Regions from separate parts of the Homo sapiens genome. Here all the other regions are linked to region 3. The links are contacts of gene promoters, found by promoter capture Hi-C in blood cells and fetal thymus (Javierre and others, 2016). All regions are on one chromosome and are shown on one strand. Each heading gives the region's core, a stretch centred on a gene start or on the middle of the fragment in contact. The rest is flanking DNA. Distances are from core to core; before and after follow the strand shown. Region 1 has its middle 3.8 kb from the start of MBOAT4. Region 2 overlaps ESCO2 (establishment of sister chromatid cohesion N-acetyltransferase 2). Region 3 holds the start of INTS9 (integrator complex subunit 9).

Evidence for each region. Contacts are between HindIII fragments. The CHiCAGO score rates a contact against its expected background, and 5 or more counts as called.
Region 1: a contact is called between a fragment that was not itself captured here and the fragment with the promoter of INTS9 in region 3, in 1 of 17 cell types (fetal thymus). The highest score is 5.1, in fetal thymus.
Region 2: a contact is called between a fragment that was not itself captured here and the fragment with the promoter of INTS9 in region 3, in 1 of 17 cell types (non-activated CD4 T cells). The highest score is 8.4, in non-activated CD4 T cells.

What each region holds. Positions count from the first base shown.
Region 1 is chr8:30,147,056-30,149,882 of GRCh38, reverse strand. No RefSeq gene overlaps it. Among named protein-coding and RNA genes, the nearest start is that of MBOAT4, 3.8 kb to the right of the region's middle. The HindIII fragment of the contact is 4,047 bases long and covers 1-2,827 here.
Region 2 is chr8:27,774,937-27,777,636 of GRCh38, reverse strand. It overlaps ESCO2 (establishment of sister chromatid cohesion N-acetyltransferase 2), which reads right to left. Exons shown (of 11, transcript NM_001017420.3): 2 at 2,070-2,138; 3 at 468-1,275. The coding sequence starts at 2,122. Among named protein-coding and RNA genes, the nearest start is that of ESCO2, 1.7 kb to the right of the region's middle. The HindIII fragment of the contact is 4,359 bases long and covers 1-2,700 here.
Region 3 is chr8:28,888,427-28,891,309 of GRCh38, reverse strand. INTS9 (integrator complex subunit 9) reads left to right here and starts at 1,341. Exons shown (of 17, transcript NM_018250.4): 1 at 1,341-1,436. The coding sequence starts at 1,428. It overlaps HMBOX1 (homeobox containing 1), which reads right to left and starts at 915. Exons shown (of 10, transcript NM_001135726.3): 1 at 632-915. RefSeq lists a silencer at 673-792 and enhancers at 445-1,001, 1,163-1,362, 1,002-1,558. The HindIII fragment of the contact is 2,854 bases long and covers 1-2,283 here.

The DNA.
Region 1 (2,827 bases), core at 28-2,527, 1.3 Mb before region 3:
GTACAATGTCTGTCCCCTGCCACAGCCGGTAGTGCCGCAGTAGATTTATGCTGCACAAAAGCTGTGAGCCTTCTGACTGGGTAACCCCTGCAAAACGCCCCAACAGGAGTCTGTGGACCCTTGCCAGCAGCGATGATAGGATTACTTTTAGGAAGGTCTAGTTTAAATTTAAAAGGGGTACAAGTACAAACAGGAGTCATTGATTCAGATTACAATGGGGAAATTCAAATTGTTATATCTACTTCCGTTCCCTGGAAAGCAGAGCCAGGAGAACTCAGAGCACAGCTCCCGATTGTGCCGTATGTGGGAATGGGGAAAAATGAAATTAAATGAACAGGAGGATTTGGAAGCACGAATAAGCAAGGCAAAGCAGCTTATTGGATAAATCAAATTACTGATAAATGTCCTACCTGTGAAATAACTATTCAGGGAAAGAAATTTAAAGGTTTGGTAGATATAGGAGCGGACATTTCAATCATTTCTCTACACACTGGCCATCCGCGTGGCCAATTCAACCCACTCAATTTAACATAGTTGGAGTTGGTAAAGCCCCTGAAGTATATCAAAGTAGTTATATTTTGCATTGAGAAGGGCCCGATGGACAACCTGGGACTATTCAACCAATTATAACTTCTGTACCTATAAGTGTATGGGGAATAGATTTGTTACAGCAATGGGGAGCACAAGTTCTAATTCCTGAACAATTATATAGCCCTCAAAGTCAACATATAATGCATGAAATGGGGTATGTCCCTGGTATGGGACTAGGAAAAAGTTTGCAAGGTTTAAAGGAACCGCTTCAAGTGGAAAGACAAAGTTCCCACCAAGGTTTAGGATATCATTTTTGATGGTGGCCATTGTTAAGCCTCCAGAATCTGTACATTTAAAATGGTTAACAGAGTAGCCAATTTGGATAAAACAATGGCCGCTAAGTAGAGAAACTTGAGGCTTTAGAGGAATTCGTTACTGAACAATTAGAAAACGGGCGCATAGCTCCAATATTTTCCAGTTTTCGTAATTAAGAAAAAATCAGGTAAATGGAGAATGTTAACTGACTTAAGAGCCATTAATTCAGTTATACAACCTTAAAATAATAACTTGGGGTAGACGTTATGCTTGTGTTTCTCCAGGACCAAATCAACAGCCGATTTGGATACCATCAAGACACCTGAAAACTTATCATGAACTAGATGCTGAGGAAGAGATTCTGGGAGGATCCTGAGGACCCCCCAATTACAGCCACGTTGAGAGTGATGCTGAGGAGGACCCCAATTGTCACGAGCAACACCCATCAAACACAGCCACCCACCTGAGGACAGATCAAGAAGCTGTCACAGATGGCAGAAGAAAACTTGAGAAAAGCGGGACAACCAGTCACAATGAGTAATTTAATGGTAGCTATGATGTGGTGATCACCATTGCCGTAAGTATTCCTTCAACAAGGGCTGACACAAAGAACAATTATACTTATTGGGCATATTTATCAATCTTGGCTGGCAATAATGCCTGGATGTAATCAGTCTATGACACAGTTACACATGCTTTCTGACCTCAGTATTTACCATAATAAATCTGCTCCTATAACTGAGGCATACCACCCTCAAAAACCTATTTGTAAACAGAATTGGACCTGGCCAGAATTAATGGACGTACTTGTTTGGGAAGATTGCATTGCAGAACAGGCAGAGGTGCTGTGCAACGATTCCTATGGAATCATTATTAATTCGTCCCCAAGGGGATGTTTAGCTTGAATTGCACCTCTCAGTCTGCATGCCATGGCCACACTATATTCAGCTGGTCTGAACAAAACAGTCAGATGGTAGAAACGGTAAGAAGTATGGCAAGAGTTCCTATTATCTGGAACCATGGTGGTATAGTGGCACCTCAACCTCAAATGATACGTCCCACTGTAGGAGCTAAACATAAGGATTTGTGGAAACAATTAATAGCTCTTAATAAGATCAAAATTTGGGAAAGAATAAAAAAGCATCTAGAAGGACACTGTACAAACTTGTCTTTGGATATCACAAAATTAAAAGAACAAATATTTAAAGCATCCCAGGCACACCTGACATTAATGCCAGGAACTGGAGTGCTTGAAGGAGCTGCAGACAGATTAGCAGCTAGTAACCCATTAAAATGGATAAAAACACTTGGATGCTCTGTGATTTCAATGATGATTGTGCTTTTAATCTGTGTTGTTTGTCTTTGTGTAGTCTGCAGATGCATATCCTGACTCCTGTGAGAAGTAGCTCACTGTGACAAAGCTGCCTTTGCTTGTATTGTTTTGTAAATCAAAGAAGGGGGACATGTTGGGAATAGGCCCCCAAAATCTGGCCATAAACTGGCCATAAACAAAATATCTGTAGCACTATGACATGTTCGTGATGGCCATGATGCCCACACTGGAAGGTTGTGGTTTTACTGGAATGAGGGCAAAGAACACCTGGCCCACCCAGGGCGGAAAACTGCTTAAAGGCATTCTTAAACCACAAACAATAGCATGAGCGATCTGTGCCTTTAGGACATGCTCCTGCTGCAGATAACGAGCCAGAGCCCATCCTTTTATTTCGGCCCATCCCTTTATTTCCCATAAGGAATACTTTTAGTTAATCTAAAATCTATAGAAACAATGCTTATCACTGGCTTGCTGTCAATAAAGACGTGGGTAAATCTCTGTTTGAGGCTCTCAGGTCTCAGCTCTGAAGGCTGTGAGACCCCTGATTTCCCACTCTATACGCTTTATTTCTGTGTGTGTGTCTTTAATTCCTCTAGTGCTGCTGGGTTAGGGTCTCCATGACCAAACTACTCTCGGCATTCCCATTAA
Region 2 (2,700 bases), core at 88-2,587, 1.1 Mb after region 3:
AGCTACATGTAACTATTGAGAACTTAAAATGTGGCTGGGCCAGGTGCAGTGGTTCACACCCATAATCCCAGCAATTTGGGAGGGTGAGGCAGGTGGATCACTATAGCCCAGCAGTGCGAGACCAGCCTGGGCAACATGGTGAAACCCCAGCCTCTACAAAAAATGCAAGAATTAGCCGGGTGAGGTGGTGTGCATCTATAGTACCAGCTACTTGGGAGGCTGAGGTGGGATTGCTTGAGCCTAGGAGGTTGAGGCTGTAGTGAGCAGTGTGCCACTGCACTACAGCCTGGGTCATAAAGAAAGACCCTGTCTTAAAATAAATAAATAAATAAACTCCTTACAGTAACTAAACACTATGCTATCTGGCTTTATAAAAGCAGTCCAGAAAATAAAATTTTATTCAACTATGTCATTTATACTGAAGTTTTGTTATACAGCCATTTTTAAAGTGATATATTTAGCTTTACCTTTATTAATTTCTCTTTATTTTTACTGCTTGCACTCAGTAGTCCAATTTTCAATTTCTCTTCTAGGACCAAGCACTTTGGCACTTGCCTTGTCGCAAAAGTTTTTTTTTCACTGACAGTCTCTACATCAGAATCTTCAATGACTTCTGATTTACTCTTTTGGGTGCGTCCCAGTGACGGCTCATTTTCCAGGGACGATTTTCTAAGAGAAGATTTTTTTCTAACAAAAAATGCTGCTCCACCCTGGAGTGTAACTTGTGGTTTTATTTTTTGGCTCAGAACCCGAGGAGCATTGGAATTATTTTCAGCTGAATGACAATTATTTTCCTTCTCCACAATTGGCTTATAGATCACTCGATTTTGCTTGGAATTTCTAGAATTCCTTGATACAGGCTTGATGTGTCTATACTTTGGTTGATACTTAGCAGTTAAACTCTTCTGTGGTTTTTTGTTGTTCTTCTTGGAGCAGACTGGTTTTCCTTGCATTTTTTCTGTCACAATGGGAAAAGATTTATCTTCATCATTAGTTTTTAGACAAGTAGATCTACTCTCTTTTATCAGCTTTCTCTCCAGTGGATTGAGGTACCACTTATTTTGGTTGTAAAAAGATACAGTGGAGAGCGCAGATTTAAATGGTGAGCCTTGATTTGCTGATGGCAGTCTATTTATTTCAGTTGTTTTGAGCGCACTTAAAACAAAATGCTCTTGTTGAGAGCAATGCAGGTTTTCTTCATTTTTATCACTGTTTTGATAAAAACAGTGCTTTTTATTAGGTGATGGAAACAGATTTTCAGTGAAGTGTAAAAGGCTATAAAAAGAAACAAAGTCCATTGATAAGATTATTTTGCGTCAAAATTTACATAAATCTACTGCTAAGTAAGCTCTACTTGTAGGTCATATTAAAAACAATACATGTACCCCCCATACACACAATTTTCTATTAGTTTAACAGTAGGATTCTCAAATTCTGTCTTTATCAAATAAAACATTCAAATATCTTCCCAAAGAGTTCATGAAAACAAATACTATATACAAAGAAGCTATGATAGACATATATGCATGTATGTTTTAAAATCGATTTCTATGTGTTGGCCATATATAAATTATAGCTCATATATTTTGCTCTATTGTTTACAAGCCCCCTATAATAACTGTCTGTAATGAACTGACCCCCTGGGGCTTTTCCTGGGTAGAGTAATTAATATCTGAGTACACAGTCTTTCTAGAATTGTTTCCAGACAAGCATCTACTGTATGCAAAACACTGTAAAATATTATAGGGGAACAGAAAGGAAAAAGGTAATAGCTGATTTGGTATATTTCCTAGCTATAGAAAACAGCTTTCTTCAATGTGCTGCTTCTATGTCAAAAGAAAAAAACAAAAACTAAAAAACAGCTTTGATTCCCTTGAAAAGGACTAAATAATTCATTATGAAAACTTAATGTATTTCCAAGCTAGAATTAGAATATAGGTTATCAGGTTATCACTGTAGCCACAAGGAGTAGGCTAGTGGAAGAACGAAAATTTTAGAAAATAGGAGAGAACAAGAGAGACAAGAAGGTGGATTTTTCTAAGAGTTTCTATTCACAGGCTGAGATTCACCTGTCACACTTCAAAGAATCCTGCTTCCTCTTCCTTGGAGTAAGAGCTGCCATTTTCTTTATTGAATTCCTAAAAGAAATGACAATAACCACATTCATCAAAATATTAAAAATCGCTTTATCAAAATTATACCCCCTTTAATTAGTCTATTTCACACCAAGTTAAAACCCTATTTTCTGGGAGGTCTTCCTCGACATTGCTCTCCTTCCACCCCTCCAAGGGTTACACGCGCTTGTTCTGCTTCCATGGCACCCTGTATTTCCCTAATAGTCCATTTAAGACATTTTCTTGTTTCCCCATCTCAACAGCCTTCAATGAAGGCAGAGACCGTCTGTAACTTTTCATCAGAGCCCAGCAAGAAAACGGGTGAAGCACAGTCCTCTGCCATTTTCCTAGCTGATGAGCCCGGAGCAAGCCGTTTGCTTCCCTTTTTATAAAAATCTCTTGAAGTCGTAAGGCTGCTGAAAACAAATGCTAGAATGCACGAGCAGGCGGCTACGTGGCTCGTCAGAATTCATTTCCTTCCCCTTCCCTGGGATCAGGGAAATTCCCCCCAAAGCAGCACACAAGCGTTATTTCAAAGCTATTAATGAATGAACAAACTGAAAGGCCAGGGTCTCTGGGAATTCAG
Region 3 (2,883 bases), core at 92-2,591:
GGAGTTTGGGGTGGAGATTCGTCCAGGGGAGGGGGCGGAGGCGAGTGGCAGAGTGTGAGCGGGCGACGGGACACAAGCGAGTTGTTGAGCCCGGCCGCCTCGCACCACGTCGCCAGCCCAAACGCCCAGCACCAGGACCTCACGCCCGCCCCTCAGCCCAGGCCCAGAGCGAGCGAGGACTCGCGCTGTCTAACTTCCCATCTACAGACACCGCTCCAAGACGAGCAGAGCACACAAGTACACGTCACACAGTTTAAACACACTTACACACCCCAAACAAACCAACACACCTGCAAATCACCTCACAGTTTCCAGAACTCCACACCGGAGACCCCACCTCCAGGATTCAAACCTTCCGCTCATCGTAGAGGAAACCAGAAGAGTTGGGGGGCAGTCGACGCCTTTCCAGGACCGGACCCCACGAACTGCCCCACCCCACAGCCCGCGTCTGGGTCACCCACTCGGAAGCCCCCTGCTTCCTCCCTCCTCTCAATCCGGCCGCTTACGAGACCCATCCCCAGCGTCCGCTCACTTCCTCCCCAAAACCCCTCCAAAAAAATTGTTTTAAGTGAAGAGAAAGAAGTGAGGAAAGAGACTTGAGGTAGTCCGGCTTCAAAACCGCTCGACTCACCTCAGAATCCTCGCTGAGTTCTCTCCGCCCGGCACAGCCCCCTCCCCAACGTCCCAGTACGAAGGGCTGAGATAGGGAGGAGGGAAGGCGGGAGGGGGAGGGGTGTCTTCCGCGTGGGGCGCCCGTCGGGAGGGGACTGGGGAGGGGTTGAGGCCGGCGCAGGAAGAGGAGAAGGGGGAGGGGAGGCCCCTATCTCCCAGTCTCCCCCTGAAAAACCTCCCTTGTCTCAATCACATCAGACTGACTGTCTTTGTCTGGCTGACAACCGCCATATTGATATCAACAGCCCCTCTCCCACCTGCTGCCGCCGGGCGTCCCTGGGAGTTGTAGTTCCTGCCTCCCCTGAGAAAAATTGCGGAGCCCGGCGCCTAGAGGGCCAAGGGAACTACAACTTCCGGCAAGCCCCGTGCCCATCCGCCTTCCCTTTGGGAGGAGGGAAAGGGGAGTCGGAGCCGTCGGGACTACACATCCCAGAACACCATGGGCCCCAGGCCCGTAAGGAAGACATGATATCATGCTGGGGTGGAGAGGGAGGATGCATTGGCGGCTGGGATGAATTTGAGCTGACGGAAGGAGGCGTTCGGAGAGGAAAGGGAGGAAAAGGAAAGGCGACCACAGTTCCCATGATGCCTGGAGGGGAGACTACATTTCCCATTATTCCCCTGGAAGGGACGTGAGGATGAAAGACTGCAAGTCCCGCGATGCTCTCGGCTGGCAGGTGGCGGAGATTGCACCGGAAGACGCTTCCTGGGTTTGAGGAGTTCAGTGACTGCTATTGAACCACCAAAAGTCCATTATGAAACTGGTGAGTCTTCGCTCCTAGGTCAGAGGGCAAAGGTGATGCTATAACCTTTTGGACCTCTTTTTTTCCTACGTTGGGCAGGGAATCGTCGCACGGGAGGGGTAGCAATTATTGAGCTGGAAAGTGGAGTGGGCTAAGGAAAGCTGCTTTTTGTTGTTGAGAAGGTTTGAATTCCCTCTCCCCCACCCCATCCCTCCCAGGAGGTCTTTTTTCACTCGTTAGTGGGTCTTTTTGTTCAGACAAGAGGTTGACTGTCACAGTCCTTCGCCCATGAACTCTGTGGGCTCTGTTAACCAGGTTTGGACGTCCTGGTTCCCACGTGAGGGTTATAATAGGCTGTTAACAATCCGTTTCCATTCGATTGGCGCTTGAGTATCCTGTCTCCCTACTGTTGTTGAGACTGGCTAGATTTAAGCAGACAGTAAAAAACATCCAGCAGAACGTAATCACTTATTAAATATCCTGTTATATAGACTCCTCACTGCCCTTGGAATTCAGGACGAGGTCAGAGTGTGGAGAAGTTGAGTCTTAAACCCTGCATGGGATTTAGATGGGCAGAGAAGTGTTATATGGTATTCCATTCTAAGACTGTAGGGACTTCATGAGCCAAGGCTGAATGAAGCGTGCTCGGTATACCTGAAGTCTTAACATCACACAGCTCAAGCACCTGGTTCATGGAGGCTCCTCAGACCTTTGATTTGAGCCATTTGACTCATTGTGCACACAAGTCTAACTAGTTTATTCCAACTCGATTCAATTAGTTAATAACATAGTGTAGAAAGGCAGGTGTGAAACACTGTTTCTCAACCTTTTAAAACCCATATTTGTGCAGCCAAGTTATTGTCAAGCTTTACTTGAGGCAGGAGAATCGCTTGAACCCGGGAGGCAGAGGTTGCAGTAAGCCAAGATCGCGCCACTGCACTCCAGCCTTGCAACAGCGCGAGACTCTGTCTCAAAAAAAAAAAAAGTTTATTTTTTACCATTTATATAATTATCTGAACATGCTTTGCCAAACCACACAACACACCTACCCTCATCTTGATAATCATTGTGCTACAGGCATATATTCTGCAAAGCCAGCTGTTTTCTGCGAAGTCAGAGAAAGTATTAAAAGTGGATTCAATTCCGAAATTGTCCCCGTATAAATCTGTTTATATAAGGGGAAGGATGCGGGTCACTAAACCTTGAGAATAGCAACTTACCCCTGGGTCAGTGTGTTACACATTTAATAATGCAGAATTAAAAGTCATAGCCGTTGCCCTACAGAAGCATGCAACCTAAGAAGAAGATAGAAAAGTAAACCAAAGTTATTATTTATTTATTTAGAGACAGGGTCTGGCTTTGTGGGGCCCAGACTGAAGTGCAGTGGCGCGTTCTCAGCTCGCTGCTACCTCCACCTTTCGGACTCAAGCGATCCTCTCGCCGCGTCAGTCTCCCCATATAGCTGGGA